3 separate regions of the Homo sapiens genome follow, and all the other regions are linked to region 2. Evidence: promoter capture Hi-C in 16 types of primary human blood cells and fetal thymus (Javierre and others, 2016). All regions are on one chromosome and are shown on one strand. The core of a region is centred on a gene start or on the middle of the fragment in contact, and the rest is flanking DNA. Distances in the headings are between cores, read along the strand shown. Region 1 overlaps CDH1 (cadherin 1). Region 2 holds the start of HAS3 (hyaluronan synthase 3). Region 3 overlaps CDH3 (cadherin 3).

Region 1 (3,780 bases), core at 1,281-3,780, 280 kb before region 2:
ATTTCTCTTTTATTCTTAAACAAAGGCATTCTTATTATCAAAAATTCAAGTGGGCTGGGCACGGTGACTCACACCTGTAATCCCAGCACTTAGAGAGGCTGAGGTGGGAGGATCACTTGAGCCCAGGAGTTCAAGACCAGCCTGGGTAACATGGCAAAACCCTGTCTCTACAAAAAGTACATAAATTAGCTGAGTGTGTTGGTGAGCACCTGTAGGCCCAGCTACTCAGAAGGCTGAAGTGGTAGGATTGCTTGAGTCTGAAAGGTGGAGGCTGCAGTGAGCCAAGATTGCGCCACTGCTCTCCATCCTGGGCAACAGAGCAAGACTCTGTCTCCAAAAAAAAAATTGTTTTTTCAAGTAATTTTGGTCAAACAGAACTTACTTTTCACTACTCACTCTTTATTCCTTCCCTAAGGGAACCAGGTAATGATGGTTTACAATCCATTTCCAAAGCTTAATACTTGTGTGACCTTGGATTTGCTGTTTAATTTTTTTTTTTTTTTTGAGACAGAGTCTTGCTCTGTCACCCAGGCTGGAGTGCAGTGGTGCAATCTTGGCTCACTGCAGCTTCCGCCTCCCAGGTTCAAGCAATTGTCCTACCTCAGCCTCCCAAGTAGCTGGGATTACAGGTGTGCACCACCACGCCCAGCTAATTTTTTGTATTTTTAGTAGAAACGGGGTTTCACCATATTGGCCAAGCTGGTCTTGAACTCCTGACCTTGTGATCTGCCCACCTTGGCCTCCCAGAGTGCTGGGATTACAGGTGTGAGCCACCGTGCCTGGCCTGCTGTTTAATTTTTATGTCCCTCAATTCCTTTACCTGAAAAATGTTAATACCCATGTGGGTGAAATTAGTTAGGTGTTAAATCAGTTAGGTGTGGGTCCTTCCAGACTGCTTCTGTGTATTTAAATACATTTATAGGCTGGGTGCTAGGGTCACACCTGTAATCCCAACACTTTGGGGGTCTGAGGTGGGAGATGGCTTGAGGCCAGGAGTTCAAGACTAGCCTGGGCAACATACTGCCCATAATCTCAAAATGCTGGGATTACAGGCATGAGTTATCATGCTTGGCCTCCTTGAGTTAATTTTAAATGACGTGTGCTCATTGTTAAAAAATAAAATTTACATGAGAAAAAAGTTTTAAAAATTTACAGTCATGCCATCTAGACATATCTATTTATAGGTTTGAGATGGATTCTTCTGTTGTTTTGTATCCGTATCGTATACTAATATTGATGATAGTTCCCTGGGTACCAATTTTTCCTACTACCATATGCTCCGTGTTGTGTCAAGATATAAAAGAAATGCAAACAGAAGTGTGGATGGGCTGGGCGCAGTGGCTCACGCCTATAATCCCAACACTTTCAGAGGCTAAGATGCGAGGATCACTTGAGCTCAAGAGTTCAAGACCAGCCTGAGCAACATGATAAGACCCCCTCTCTACAAAAAAAATTTAAAAACTAGCCAAGCATGGTGGCATGCGCCTGTAGTCTCAGCTACTAGGGAGGCAGAGGTGGGAGATTAAGCCCAGGAGGTAGAGGCTGCAGTGAACTGTGTTCATGCCACTGCATTCCCGCCTGGGTGACAGAGTGAGACTCTGCCTCAAAAAAAAAAAAAAAAGCGTATGTGAACTCCCCAATCTATTTTGAAAACCAATTTGCAGAGACTTCAAAAGACCCAACTCATCCCCTTTGATTTTAAGCTTCTAGTCAGGCTTAAAATTAAAATAAATAAAAAGACTCAATGCTTTGTTAATGACCTCAAATGGCAGGAAAGTGCAGAAAAAGGAGAACTAGGGAAACAACAGGCAGGCAATAGGACTTCTTGGAGTAGTTAAAATTCAGTGAATGAATAACGATATGTGAAGAAGGAGGAGTGTGTTCTTGGTGTGAGGAATAACTTGAATAATTGTTATCAAGGTGGGAATAAGTTGTCTGTGTAAAACGGCCAGAGACCTGCCCACCTGGGAGTGGAGGTCCTTTGGGATTGGTGGGACAGGAGGTTCTGCGGGTGGAGTGGGGCCTGGTGAGGGACCACTGAAGAGCCAGGACAAGATCTAGACTTGGTCTGGTGGAAGGCAATGGGGATTCATTACTGTTGCCAAGCTGCCACATTTTCTGTGTATTTTCTCTTAGGTTCTCCAGTTGCTACTGGAACAGGGACACTTCTGCTGATCCTGTCTGATGTGAATGACAACGCCCCCATACCAGAACCTCGAACTATATTCTTCTGTGAGAGGAATCCAAAGCCTCAGGTCATAAACATCATTGATGCAGACCTTCCTCCCAATACATCTCCCTTCACAGCAGAACTAACACACGGGGCGAGTGCCAACTGGACCATTCAGTACAACGACCCAAGTGGGTACCTGAGTTTTATTTTGGCAACTTTGCTCCAACTGCCATGCTTCCCTTCCCCCAGATCCCCACCTTTCAATTTCCCTTCTCAACTTCTAGATGTCACCCCTTCCATTGATACTTGCTTCCTTGTCCCTTCTGTCTTTGAGGCCTTGCTCCAAAGGTCTTTTTCCTTTCCTGGTATCTAACTTTGTAGCATGCTACCCAGTAATCTAAAACCCAAGCAGGGCTCCCTCTCCCAGCCTCTAGCCACCCTCCACTCCCCTCTCCACTTGCAACCAGGACCATCTTCTCTGCTACCTCCTGCTCCTGGGACCAAACAACACCATTTTTGTGGTTAGCTCCTTCTTGCCAACCAATCGTGAGCTCCCAGATTCATCAGAACTATTCTACCGAGGTGGAGGCAGCTGTCAACTGCCTGGTCAATTTGCATATATGGGCTTCCTACACCTACTTCTCTCTGGGCTTCTATTTCCACCATGACGATGTGGATCTGGAAGGTGTGCACCACTTCTTCCACAAATTGGCCAAGGAGAAGCACAAGGGCGCTGAGTGTCCCTTGAAAATGCAAAACCAGTGTGGCGGCCGCACTGTCTTCCCGGACATCCAGAAGCCATGTAAAGATGAATGGGGTAAAACCCTGGGTGCGATGGAAGTCACTCTGGCCCTGGAGAAGAACCTGAACTGGACCCTTTTGGATCTTCATGCCTTGGGTTCCACCTGCACAGACCCCCATATCTGTGACTTCCTGGAGAGCCACTTCCTAGATGAAAAAGTAAAACTCATCAAGAAGATAGGTGACCACCTGACCAACCTTCACAGGCCAGCCGGCCTCCAGGCCGGGCTGGGCAAAAAGGTTCACCCTCAGGCACACGGGAGCCTACCGAACCCAGCGACATCTGAAGAGCCCCGCTCTGCCTAAGCCTCTCCCTCCAGCCACTAGGCAGCTTTTTTAAACCAACTCTAGAGCCCTCTCCCAAGCCTTAGACCAAATGGAAATAAAGCTTTTTACAGCAAAAAAAAAAAAAAAAAAGTACATACCTAAATAAAACCCAAGCAGCTCTGCTCTCTTCACTCGGCTTGCGGGTGTCTTTAGTTCACTAGCAATTTTATTCTGGAATGAGCTTTTTATTTTCCTCCCCTGGTCTCATCATTTCTTTTTATTGCTTTCTCCAGCCCAAGAATCTATCATTTTGAAGCCAAAGATGGCCTTAGAGGTGGGTGACTACAAAATCAATCTCAAGCTCATGGATAACCAGAATAAAGACCAAGTGACCACCTTAGAGGTCAGCGTGTGTGACTGTGAAGGGGCCGCTGGCGTCTGTAGGAAGGCACAGCCTGTCGAAGCAGGATTGCAAATTCCTGCCATTCTGGGGATTCTTGGAGGAATTCTTGCTTTGCTAAGTAAGTCCAGCTGGCAAG
Region 2 (5,135 bases), core at 582-3,081:
TGAGCGCTTACCCTCAGCCAATCTCTTCAAACTTCCTATCAGTCCGCCTAGCAATCCCATCTGTGGGATGAAGACACTGGGGCTTACTGGCAGACTCTAGAGCCCTCCCCTCCACCAACCTAAGGCTTCTTCTCCATCTTTGTGTAAGTAGGAATGGCTCTGGTAGGGCCCCTCAGGCCATCTGAAGTTCAAAACACATTGGCAGCTGGGCTGGATAGCATGCCTATAGGACTAGCTCCTAGGGAGGCTGAGGCGGAAGGGCTGCTGGAGTCCAGGAATTTGTTTTTGAGACAGCGTCTTGTTCTGTTACCCAGGCTGGAGTGTAGTGGTTCGATCATAGCTCACTGTTGCCTTGACCTCCTGGGCTCAAGCAATTCTCCTGCCTCAGCCTCCCTAGTAGCTGGGACTACAGGCACACTCCACCATGCCTGGCTAATGTTTTTTTTTTTTTTCTTTTCTTTTCTTTTTCTTTTTTTTTTTATTTTTATTTTTTGAGATGGAGTCTCACTCTGTCGCCCAGGCTGGAGTACAGTGGCATAATCTTGGCCCACTGCAACCTCTGTCTCCTGGGTTTAAGCGATTCTTCTGCCTCAACCTTCCCAGTGGCTGGGACTACAGGCACGTGCCACCATGCCTGGCTAATTTTTGTATTTTTTAGTAGAGATAGGGTTTCACCATATTAGCCAGGCTGGTCTCTAACTTCTGACCTCGTGATCCGCCCACCTCGGCCTCCCAGAGTGTTGGGATTACAGGCGTGAGCCTGCACCCGGCCCTGGCTAATTTTTTAATTTTAATTTTTGTAGAGACGGGGGAAGTCTCGCTTTGTTGCCCAGGCTGGTCTTGAACTCCTGGCCTCAAGCGATCCTCCATCTTCAGCCTCCCAAAGTGCTGGGACTACAGGTGTGAGCCACTGTGCCTGGCCAATAATGTAAGATGGGATTGTGTGGAGTAGGTGTGCCTGGGGTCTTTGCTTGCCTGCGGGGACTGAGGTGTGAGGTCTGTGGCCCAGACTGAGCAATGGTGGGCAGGCAAGTCCCTGAGCCCCTAAAACTTGCGAGAGGAGAAGTTTATAGACTGCAGCTCAGGTGCCTATAAATTTGTTGCAGCTTGGGAAGAAGTGATAGAAATTATATCAGGTGTATTTGGAAAACAGGTAAACTCTGTTTTTTGGTTTTTTTTTTTTTTTTTTTTTTTTTTTTTTTTGGAGACGGAGTCTCGCTCTGCTGCCCAAGCTGGAGTGCAGTGGTGCGATTTCAGCTCACTGCAACCTCCACCTGCGGGGTTCAAGCGATTCTCCTGCCTCAGCCTCCCGAGTAGCTGGGATTACGGGCATGGTGCCCGTAACGCCGAAAGTGCTGAGATTACAGGCTTGAGCCACGGCGCCCGGCCACTCATTTTTTAAAAACTAGTTATTAATTATAATTTCTCTTCAAGTTTTCCTGAGATGTAAAAACTCATCGCCTTCAGCTGGTTCTAAACTTCTTGTCTCTGCTAACAACTCTCCCCCCTCCTCGATCTCACCCCACCCCAGTGCACCCCAACTCACTTCATCTCACTTTACTCGAGTCTAGCACTATCTTTTAGGGACCTGAAAACTACTGTCGATAAGGTCAGTTGGGAATTTAGGAGGTCATGGATGTCGGAAATAAAGGTGTGAAAAAGAAGAGGAGGAATTGTTTTGGCTTTAAGACACCGGAACCTCCAAGGTTCCTACAAAACCGTTTGCAGCTTTTGCAAACCGCCTTAAAGTCATCAGCGCCCCACTGCGGAATTCAAAGCTAAGCTGTCACAATTGTTAACACCTTCTTTGACCAGCCTTTTTACATTTGACAATTCTCTTCAGCGCCTCTTTCCTGCCAGCAGGAAGGTTTTGCTGCCTTGGCTTTCGGGAGCCCCCTAGACAGCGAACTGCCCCTTCGCGTGCAGAAGTCGGGGAAGAGTGCTCTCAGCTCGCCTTCCTTGCAGGGTGAGTAGGTTTTGCGGGTTAGAGAGCGGGGCGTGGGGGCGGGGAGGGAGAGTAACAATTTTGGAAGTCCCTGCGTGGTATCTGGAAAGTTAACGACGCTTCAGGTTCTAGGTTGAGCCCAATGACCGTCTTGCCTTGGCAGCTGGTCCCAGGGCGATTGCAGAGCCGCGTGGCCTTCGGCCCCACTCGGGGGACCCAGCTTCGGAGAGGGCGCAGGGGCTGCGAGTCTTGCGAGCCGGAGCCGCGTCCACCCGGGACTAGGCGTCCCCGCCGAGCGCTGGCTTGTGGCGCTCCCTGGGACCGCGCGGGGTCGGGGGTGCGCCCGCGGGGGCCCTCCCACTCTGGTCAACTTTCCCGGCCCCAGGGCCGGGGGAGGCGCCTCTCCTGGCGGGCACGCGCCGGGTACTTAAGGGCGGCTCGGCTGGGCAGGCGGCAGTCGGAGCGCGCGGCGGCGCGGAGCGGAGCGGGAGGAGGGGCATGGAGCCGCCGCGGGCCTGCTGAGCTCCGGAGCGCGGCAGCCGGCGGCACGGTGAGCGCGGGCCGGCCGGCACCCAGGAGGGGAGGGCCGCGCGGGGCTGCGCCGAGGCCGGGGCGCGCCGGGTGGCAGGGGTGCCTCTCGCCGAGCCCCCCGCACCCGGCCAGCTCCCAGCCCTGCGGGCGCCGCGTCCGGCGCGGGGAGGCGGGTTGGGGGCGGCGGCAGCCCCGGGCTTCCCGGCGGCCGTTCCTGCAGCCCCCTCCCCACTGACCCCTCCTCCCTTTCTTCCTGCATCCTCTCCTCTTCCAGCCTCGCCTCCCTCCTCCCCGGCGGCTCCTGTTTTGTGAATGAATTAGGAGGCGGACGCCGGTGCGGGGCTCCAGGCTGGCTGGGGTACCCCTCCCCCGCACCTTCTACGACCTCCCGGGGGTTTGCACCTGTCCGGGCACCAAGGTACCAGGCGCCCACGTTCCTGCGGGTTAGCCGGGCCGCGGCAGCACGTGTCCGGGGGAGTGGGCTCCCCTCCCCTGGCCGGCCTGGAGGGGCCCGGAGGGCGGCCGGGCACAAGAGGAGGAGCCCCGTTGGGCGCACAAGTTTCCATGCCGCTGCGTGTGGCCCTGCCGCGGGGCGCACCTGTCAGCGGGAGAGACGCTGCACACCAGCAGCCCCTCAAAGTTTCGGAGGCTTGATGGAGAAGCGTGCGTCCTTGACTGGGGGTTCTCCTTCCGTAGTCCTGGGAGCCGGACTTGAGAGCGCCCCCAACCTTGTGCCCTTGAAAGCCGAGTGCGCGTTAGTTTGCCTGGGCTGGGCTCCCGTGGATGAGCGAAGGGCATGAGGAGGCGGCGGTCCAGGCTGTAGGATCACCCCACAGCCTCTGCCGGCTTGGGGTGACACAGCCCCCCGCCCCAGGTCTGGGCAGGAGAACCTCGACCACAGCCTGCACCAGCGCCTGATTGCACGTGGGGTATCTGGCTGAGGGACATTTTGGGGGCCTCTATTTGGGGGTGGGGGTAGTAACCTGGGTAATGCCTCTAATTCCTGCGGGGGAGGGGTCCCGCCCAGGGAAGGAGAGGGCCGGCTACACCGGGGATGCGCCTTTGTCTACAGGCACACTTTGCCAAGGTAGCTGGGGTACCAGGAAGAGCAGGGCCTGGTCCGACTGGGATCCCTTGGGTTTTCCGTTCCTTCCCGGTTGGGTCGTGGGAAAGCGGCACGTGGGTGTGGCCGGCGCCGCCTTTGCCAAGAGGCGAGGCTCGAGCGGGGATGAGAAGCGTGGCGAGTGCGTTCGCGGCTGCTTTGACCTGGTGGGCGCCGCCTCCGGCACTGCACCGAGGCGGGGCGCCAGCGCCCAGGTTGCTGGGCTGGCCTTGGCGCCCCCTTCCCCTACCCAGAGCGCAGGCAGGCAGGGGGGTCCCGCCGCGCCCCTTCAGCATGTAAGCTCCGGAGGGGAATGGGGGCGCTCCTAGGCTGCGGATGCAGGCCTGGGGACTCCTGGGCCGCAGGCGCGAGCAGTAGGGTGGCAACAGGGAGGGCTGGGAGTCCTGTGAAGGAAGCACACGGCGGGCTCCCCGGGACGGTGGGGCAGAGCGCCCGGAGGCCGCGCTTCCCGGAGAGGCTAGGCTGCCAGCAGCTCTTTTCGGGCCAACGCTGCTGGAAGGCTGCTAGTGCCGGAGTCTCAGGTCGATTTAGGCAGTGACTGCGTGTTCTTCGTCCCTTCTACGTGAGAGGCGTCCCGACAGGAAAGTGTGTTTGTTTTGGGGGCTCCGTTTCCTGAGACCTAAGAGTTGGAGCAAGCTTGGAAGCGAGGCATCATTGTCTGTAGACCTCAGTGAACATGGGGTTCTCTAGATCAGGCAGGTGGCAGAGAGGAGATAGTGTGGGTCAGAATGGGAAGGCCGGCAGCCATCCTTGCCACCTTTTCTTTCCCCTCCCTCACATCCCCCTCCCCACCTGCTCTGGAGGAAACCACAGTCACCCTCACCACTAGGGTAGCTCTTCGGGGCCGGAAGTGTTTCCATTTTTAGGGAAATGACTTACCTGAGACATGAGGCAGGAATCCATTAGAACTCCCATTGTGCTATGGGGAGACCAAGTCTCAGAGAACTGGGGCAAGGTCAGGCAGCCAGGAGGCAGAAGTGCTGTCTTAAACCCAATTCTCTAGTGCCAAGTCCTGGGCTGTTATAAAATACAGCTGTTTCCAACAGGGGAGATGTTAGGAGCCCTGACTTAGTTGCAAATGGAAACCGGGCATTGTTTCCAGGAGTGGCTGGGCAGGGGGACACGCACAGAGACGCATGCTGCACGGGCACTAGGACCAAGCGGATGGGATGCCCAGGCAGCCACTGTGGAGGCTGCTGCAGTGGTGGCTGCAGTTCCCTGTGCTTTCTTCAGCCCTGGGCTCTAGGAGGCTGTCCACTCCCCAGCTTGCATTTCCTGGTCTGCCTCTCCCCCTGCTTTCCCTTTCTTTCCTGCCTCTCAAGTAAAAGGTGAGAAAGTGGAGGACACAGGGAAAGTTTCTCTAATAACTGTCTTGAGAAAGGGAAGCTGCTGCTTTTTCCCAATGCCCCTTTGTTTGCTGTTTCTTTTGCTCCTGCACTTTCTTCTTGGGTCTTACTGGTGGCTGCACTTTACTGGTGAATATCCCCTCCAGGAGTGGGTGCAGGGTAGGGGGAAGCTCTTAGGCCACTGGCTGCC
Region 3 (4,985 bases), core at 55-2,554, 440 kb before region 2:
GAATCTTTCTTCAAGTCACTTCCACCTACTTTTCCCCGGTGCCCTCTTATCCCAATCCCTTAACAGAAGGTAGTGATAGCTATAAGGACAAATTTGTTTGTTTTGTGAGCTAGGTATGTCCCTAAAGCAAGCTAGAATAGAAATTTCCTAGGCAATCTCTTCCCCCAACTCCCCAGGCTGCCTTTTGGCCACAATATGTTTAAGATGATGTTTTCCTTTTCCTCTAGTCAAAATACCCAGAGATCAGTAGGGAAATTGGTGGAGAGTGATCACTTGATGGACATTTTGTCTACGGAAAGATGGGTGGTTTTATTTTGCCAGAACATCCAGTAATGTTGGACATCAGGACCAGATAGCACCTCCAGGAAGAGACAAGCTCCTGACCTTCAAGGGTATTCCCTTGGGAGTATGGAGGTGTCTAGGCAAATTCCAACCTAAAAGCAGGCCTGGAACATAAGAGGAATGAGTTCTTAGCCCAGCATCCATCAATTCTTATAAGTCTATTTAAAAAGCTTTCTTTTCCCAATAGCTCTAGTACCCCAGGGACCAAACTCTTCTTGCCCAAGTTTTATTAGTGGCGCCAGTTCAGGACCCGAGGCCAGGCTTGGCAGGATGATCTTTAGAGAGGAGCTTTGAACATAGGCCAGAGACTCCTGGTTTCCATTGGATGTCTTCTATCGAGTGCAGATACATAGAGCTCTGGCTTTTTTGTTGTTAATTTCTCTTTTTATTTATTTTTACCTATAATGTGTCCTATGATATTAATTGTTAATTTCTCTAGAAGCAGCCTCAGGTTACTGATTCCCTTTTTCCCTTCCCCGACAGTATTTTAGGGAATGTACATTTAGGCTCAGTGCTAAAAGCTGTCCATTTATATTGGTAGAGCAGGCACCTCTTCATCAGGTTCATTGACCTTGTAATTCAGAATCCTTGTGGGAGAAACTGAGGCTAATGCGGTCAAATGACTGTCTGAAGCCCTGGATGGGTGTGGAAGAAAGAGCTATGTTTAGGCTTTCATTTTCCAGCCTTAAATTCTGAACTATTGCCCCATGTGCTCATCATCAAGTTGCCCCAGAAAGAGTTTGATGCAAGCCCATTCATGCCCCCGTGATTTGGCCAAGATGTGTGGCCTTGTGGAACCATGCTGCAGTTAGGAACAGGAGTCAGTTTACTTCGCTGACTATTAAAAGATGGGGTAAAGGAGGGATGAGTGATGATGAGACCTGGTTTCGTATCAGTTTCATTATGAAACTAGTGATACAAGCCAGTGGTGCCAGGAAGCATCTGGGAGGAAATTGTAATGATCTGCCCCAGGGCTTACCATTTACTATGTCTTGACTCATAGCTTGCAGAGAAGACTACTCATGTTCCTACATGTGCCTAGCAAGTTTCCCTAGAAAGGCCAGCTTTTTCATGAAATCTCCGTCTTCTGCTTCCTCTGGTAAACCACAGAGGACCCCTACAAAACAGCCCTCTCCAAATGCAGACTGAGCCAGTTCCCTATTGTGCCCTCTGGTCCCATGTGTCACCATCTTTGATCAGCTTCATCCGTTGAGTAAAGCATACAGCTGTAGCTAACTTCTTCCCACTTTGAGAGAGAATTTTTCGATGGTATACATAGAAAGAGGCCAGGATGTGGATGTCAGAAGCCTAGGTTAATTGTAAGTAGTCTAAGGTACCTTTTTATTGAGAGCTTACCTTACTTACTCTGGGCCAGGCACAGTATTCAGTGCTGTTTGAACACTATCCCATTTAATCTTCCTAATAACCTGATGAGGTAGGTATTGTTTCATTTTCCAGATGAGGAAACTGAGCTTCTATATAATCATACAATTTGCCCAATCATGTGATAGATAAGTGACATTATAGGGATTGGAATCCAAGTCTTCTGGACTCCAAATTTCGTATTCTTCATTATTTCCCTGCCTTCAGGATTTGAAACCTGATCTTGCTGCTTCCTGGGGCAGTTCAACCCCTGGCAGCCTCTTGTTTCCTGAGTTGTCAGATTGGGAGAAGTAATACCACATTGCAGGTTATTTTGTGAGGATTTGGGTAGGAAAACACTTAGCTGGGTATCCTGAGCAGAGTGGGTGTTTGAAGCTTATTCCTATCAGTCTGGACCATTGCCCCTTGGTTGTGCTCTGTACCCAACTCAAAGCAGTTTAGAGCTGATGGGGCCAGCTCCTCAGATGTATCTGGAATATGCACCCTGAGTGGGAGGCACATACACCTATAATACATGACCGTTGGCTTCCCCTTGATTATTGACACTGTCCCTTCTACAAATAGATGCACAGCCCAGATACTGTGCTACAAATATGTGGAACCATGTAACAGTGGAAATATGCCAGAAGACAGGGTAGTAGAGTGAGTTGTACACTCTAGTGGGAAGCAGATTTTGTAGACAGCGGGAAGAGGATTTCTAGCTCCTGGTGGGGTGGCGGGGGGGGTGGGCGGTAGCAGCTCTCAGAGTTTTGGGGATTAAGTCTTCTGAGTAGTAGGGGAGTCAATCCATTAGCCTCCTTCTGGGTTACCTGGTGGGAGAGGATTGGAGTCATTGAGTCTCTCCTTAAAGGAAATAATTGACAGAATTGTCTGGTTAGCCCTTTACTGGCTAAAGATCTTCCCTTAGGAAGAGGGCTGTTTTAGGATTGAGAAAAGTGGCCAGGCACAGTGGCTCATGCCTGTAATCCCAGCACCCTGGGAGGCCAAGGTGGGAGGGTCACTTGTGCCCAGGAGTTCTAGACCAGCCTGGGAAACAGCAAGACCCTGTATCTACCAAAAAAATAAAAGTGACCTTTAGTCACTCACTTTGGGAGGCCAAGGTGGGTGGATCACTTGAGTTTGAGACCAGCCTGACCAACATAGTGAAACCCTGTCTCTACTAAAAATACAAAAAATTAGCCGGGCCTGGTGGCGGGCGCCTGTAGTCCCAGCTACTCGGGAGGCTGAGGCAGGAGAATGACGTGAACCTAGAAGGCGGAGCTTGCAGTGAGCCGAGATTGCGCCACTGCACTCCAGCCTGGGCAACAGAGCAAGACTCTGTCTCAAAAAAAAAAAAAAAAAAAAAGAACATCATTAGTACTTAAGTAGTTCTTGAATGAATGCTGCATTGACGAACCTGGCTTTAGAACCTGACCACCCTGGGTTCTCATTCTAATTCCAAGCTGTTCGACCTTTGGCTAGTCATCTCACCGCCACCACCCCTCACCCCCAGCCCTAGTTTCCTCATGTGGTAAATGGTGGGTAATGGTCTGTAAGGTTCTGGGGGTCTACACATTCCCGGTTGGGGTTTATTTTTCTTGAAATGGTTTTGCTCTGTCTCCAGCTGGGGTGCAGTGGCAAGAGCATGGATCCCTGTAACCTCGACCTCCTGGGCTCAAGGTATCTTCCCACCTCAGTTACCTAAGCAGCTGGGACTACATCATGGTTTGGAGTTTCAACTTGTACGTTACTCATGATGGTTCTGTGAAGTGTAATATCCATCTTCCAAATGAGAAAGCATAAATACCTAATAAGTTAATTCAAGTTCTACATCAGCAGTGATATTTCCAATTAATGGATTCTTGAGGGACTTTCACAGGGTCTTCAGCCCAGCTTTAAATAATACTGAATCAGCCTGGCACAGTGGCTCATGCCTGTAATCCCAGCACTTTGGGAGGCCAAAGCGGGTGGATCGCTTGAGGCCAGGAGTTCGAGACCACCCTGGCCAACATGGTGAAACCCTGTCTCTACTAAGAATACAAAAATTAGCTGGGCGTGGTGGTGCACTCCTGTAGTCCCAGCTACTCAAGAGGCTGAGGCAAGAGAATCGCTTGAGCCCGGGAGGTGGAGGTTGCAGTAAGCTGAGATTACACCACTGCACTCCAGCCTGAGTAACAGAGCGAGACTGTGTCTCAAAAAAACAAAAACAAAAAAGTAGTACATAAATATTATCTATTAATAGTAATTTAGAAGGGGAGGGATTTTAGATTGATGTACTTTTTTTTTTTTTTTTTAAGAGACAGGGTCTAGCTATATTGGCCAGGCTGGACTCAAACTCCTGGGCTCAAGCAATCTGCCCACCTCAGCCTCCCAAGTAGCTGGTACTACAGGTGCCTGCCACCATGCCCAGCTGAGATTTGATGCCCACTTGCTAGGTTTGCCATAACAAAGTGCCAGGTACTGGGGTGGCTTAAATAACAGAAATTTATTTTCTTATAGTTCTGGCTTGTAGATGGACAACTTCTCCCTGTGGCTTCACATAGTCTTCCCTCTGTAACTACCTGTGTCCAAACCAAACTTCTTCCTCTTCTAAAGATACCAGTCATGCTGGATTAGGGCCTAGCCTAATGAGTTCATTTTACCTTTTTTTTTTTTTTTTTTTGAGATGGATCTTGCTCTGTTGTCCAGGCTGGAGTGAGGTGGTGCGATCTCGGCTTACTGCAACCTCTGTCTCCTGGGTTCAAGCGATTCTCCTGCCTCAGCCTCCCGGGTAGCTGGGACTACAGGCGCAGGCCACCATGCCCAGCTAATTTCTGTATTTTTAGTAGAGACGGGATTTTACTATGTTGGCCAGGCTGATCTCAAACTCCTGACCTCAGGTGATCCGCCCATCTTGCCCTCCGAAAGTCCTGGGATTACAGGCGTGAGATACCATGCCTGGCTGACTTCATTTTACCTTAATTACCTCTTTAAGGTCCCTGTCTTCACATTTAATGGCCATTTTAGGTACCAGTGGTTAGGACTTCAACATAAGAATTTTGGAGGGACACAACTCGTGTTAAGGGAAAACTTGGACCTGCAGAAAAATTGAGAAAATAAGTTGCCAACAGGTAGTCATGGCCAAATGGTTATTGCAGTGAACTTGAAAATAAGTTTCTGTAAAATTAGCCGGGCGAGGTGGCGGGCGCCTGTAGTCCCAGCTACTCGGGAGGCTGAGGCAGGAGAATGGCGTGAACCCCAGGGGGCGGAGCCTGCAGTGAGCCGAGATTGCGCCACTGCAC

Evidence for each region. Contacts are between HindIII fragments. The CHiCAGO score rates a contact against its expected background, and 5 or more counts as called.
Region 1: a contact is called between a fragment that was not itself captured here and the fragment with the promoter of HAS3 in region 2, in 1 of 17 cell types (megakaryocytes). The highest score is 6.1, in megakaryocytes.
Region 3: a contact is called between a fragment that was not itself captured here and the fragment with the promoter of HAS3 in region 2, in 2 of 17 cell types (erythroblasts and M2 macrophages). The highest score is 6.1, in erythroblasts.

Annotation. Positions count from the first base shown.
Region 1 is chr16:68,819,865-68,823,644 of GRCh38, forward strand. It overlaps CDH1 (cadherin 1), which reads left to right. Exons shown (of 16, transcript NM_004360.5): 12 at 2,137-2,361; 13 at 3,535-3,762. It also overlaps the pseudogene FTLP14. Among named protein-coding and RNA genes, the nearest start is that of TANGO6, 22 kb to the right of the region's middle. The HindIII fragment of the contact is 1,659 bases long and covers 1,702-3,360 here.
Region 2 is chr16:69,103,822-69,108,956 of GRCh38, forward strand. HAS3 (hyaluronan synthase 3) reads left to right here and starts at 1,832. Exons shown (of 4, transcript NM_001199280.2): 1 at 1,832-1,966. RefSeq lists an enhancer at 1,497-2,045 and a silencer at 2,179-2,458. The HindIII fragment of the contact is 7,234 bases long and covers 1-4,233 here.
Region 3 is chr16:68,667,175-68,672,159 of GRCh38, forward strand. The region is part of intron 2 of CDH3 (cadherin 3); the gene reads left to right. Among named protein-coding and RNA genes, the nearest start is that of CDH3-AS1, 23 kb to the left of the region's middle. The HindIII fragment of the contact is 1,588 bases long and covers 511-2,098 here.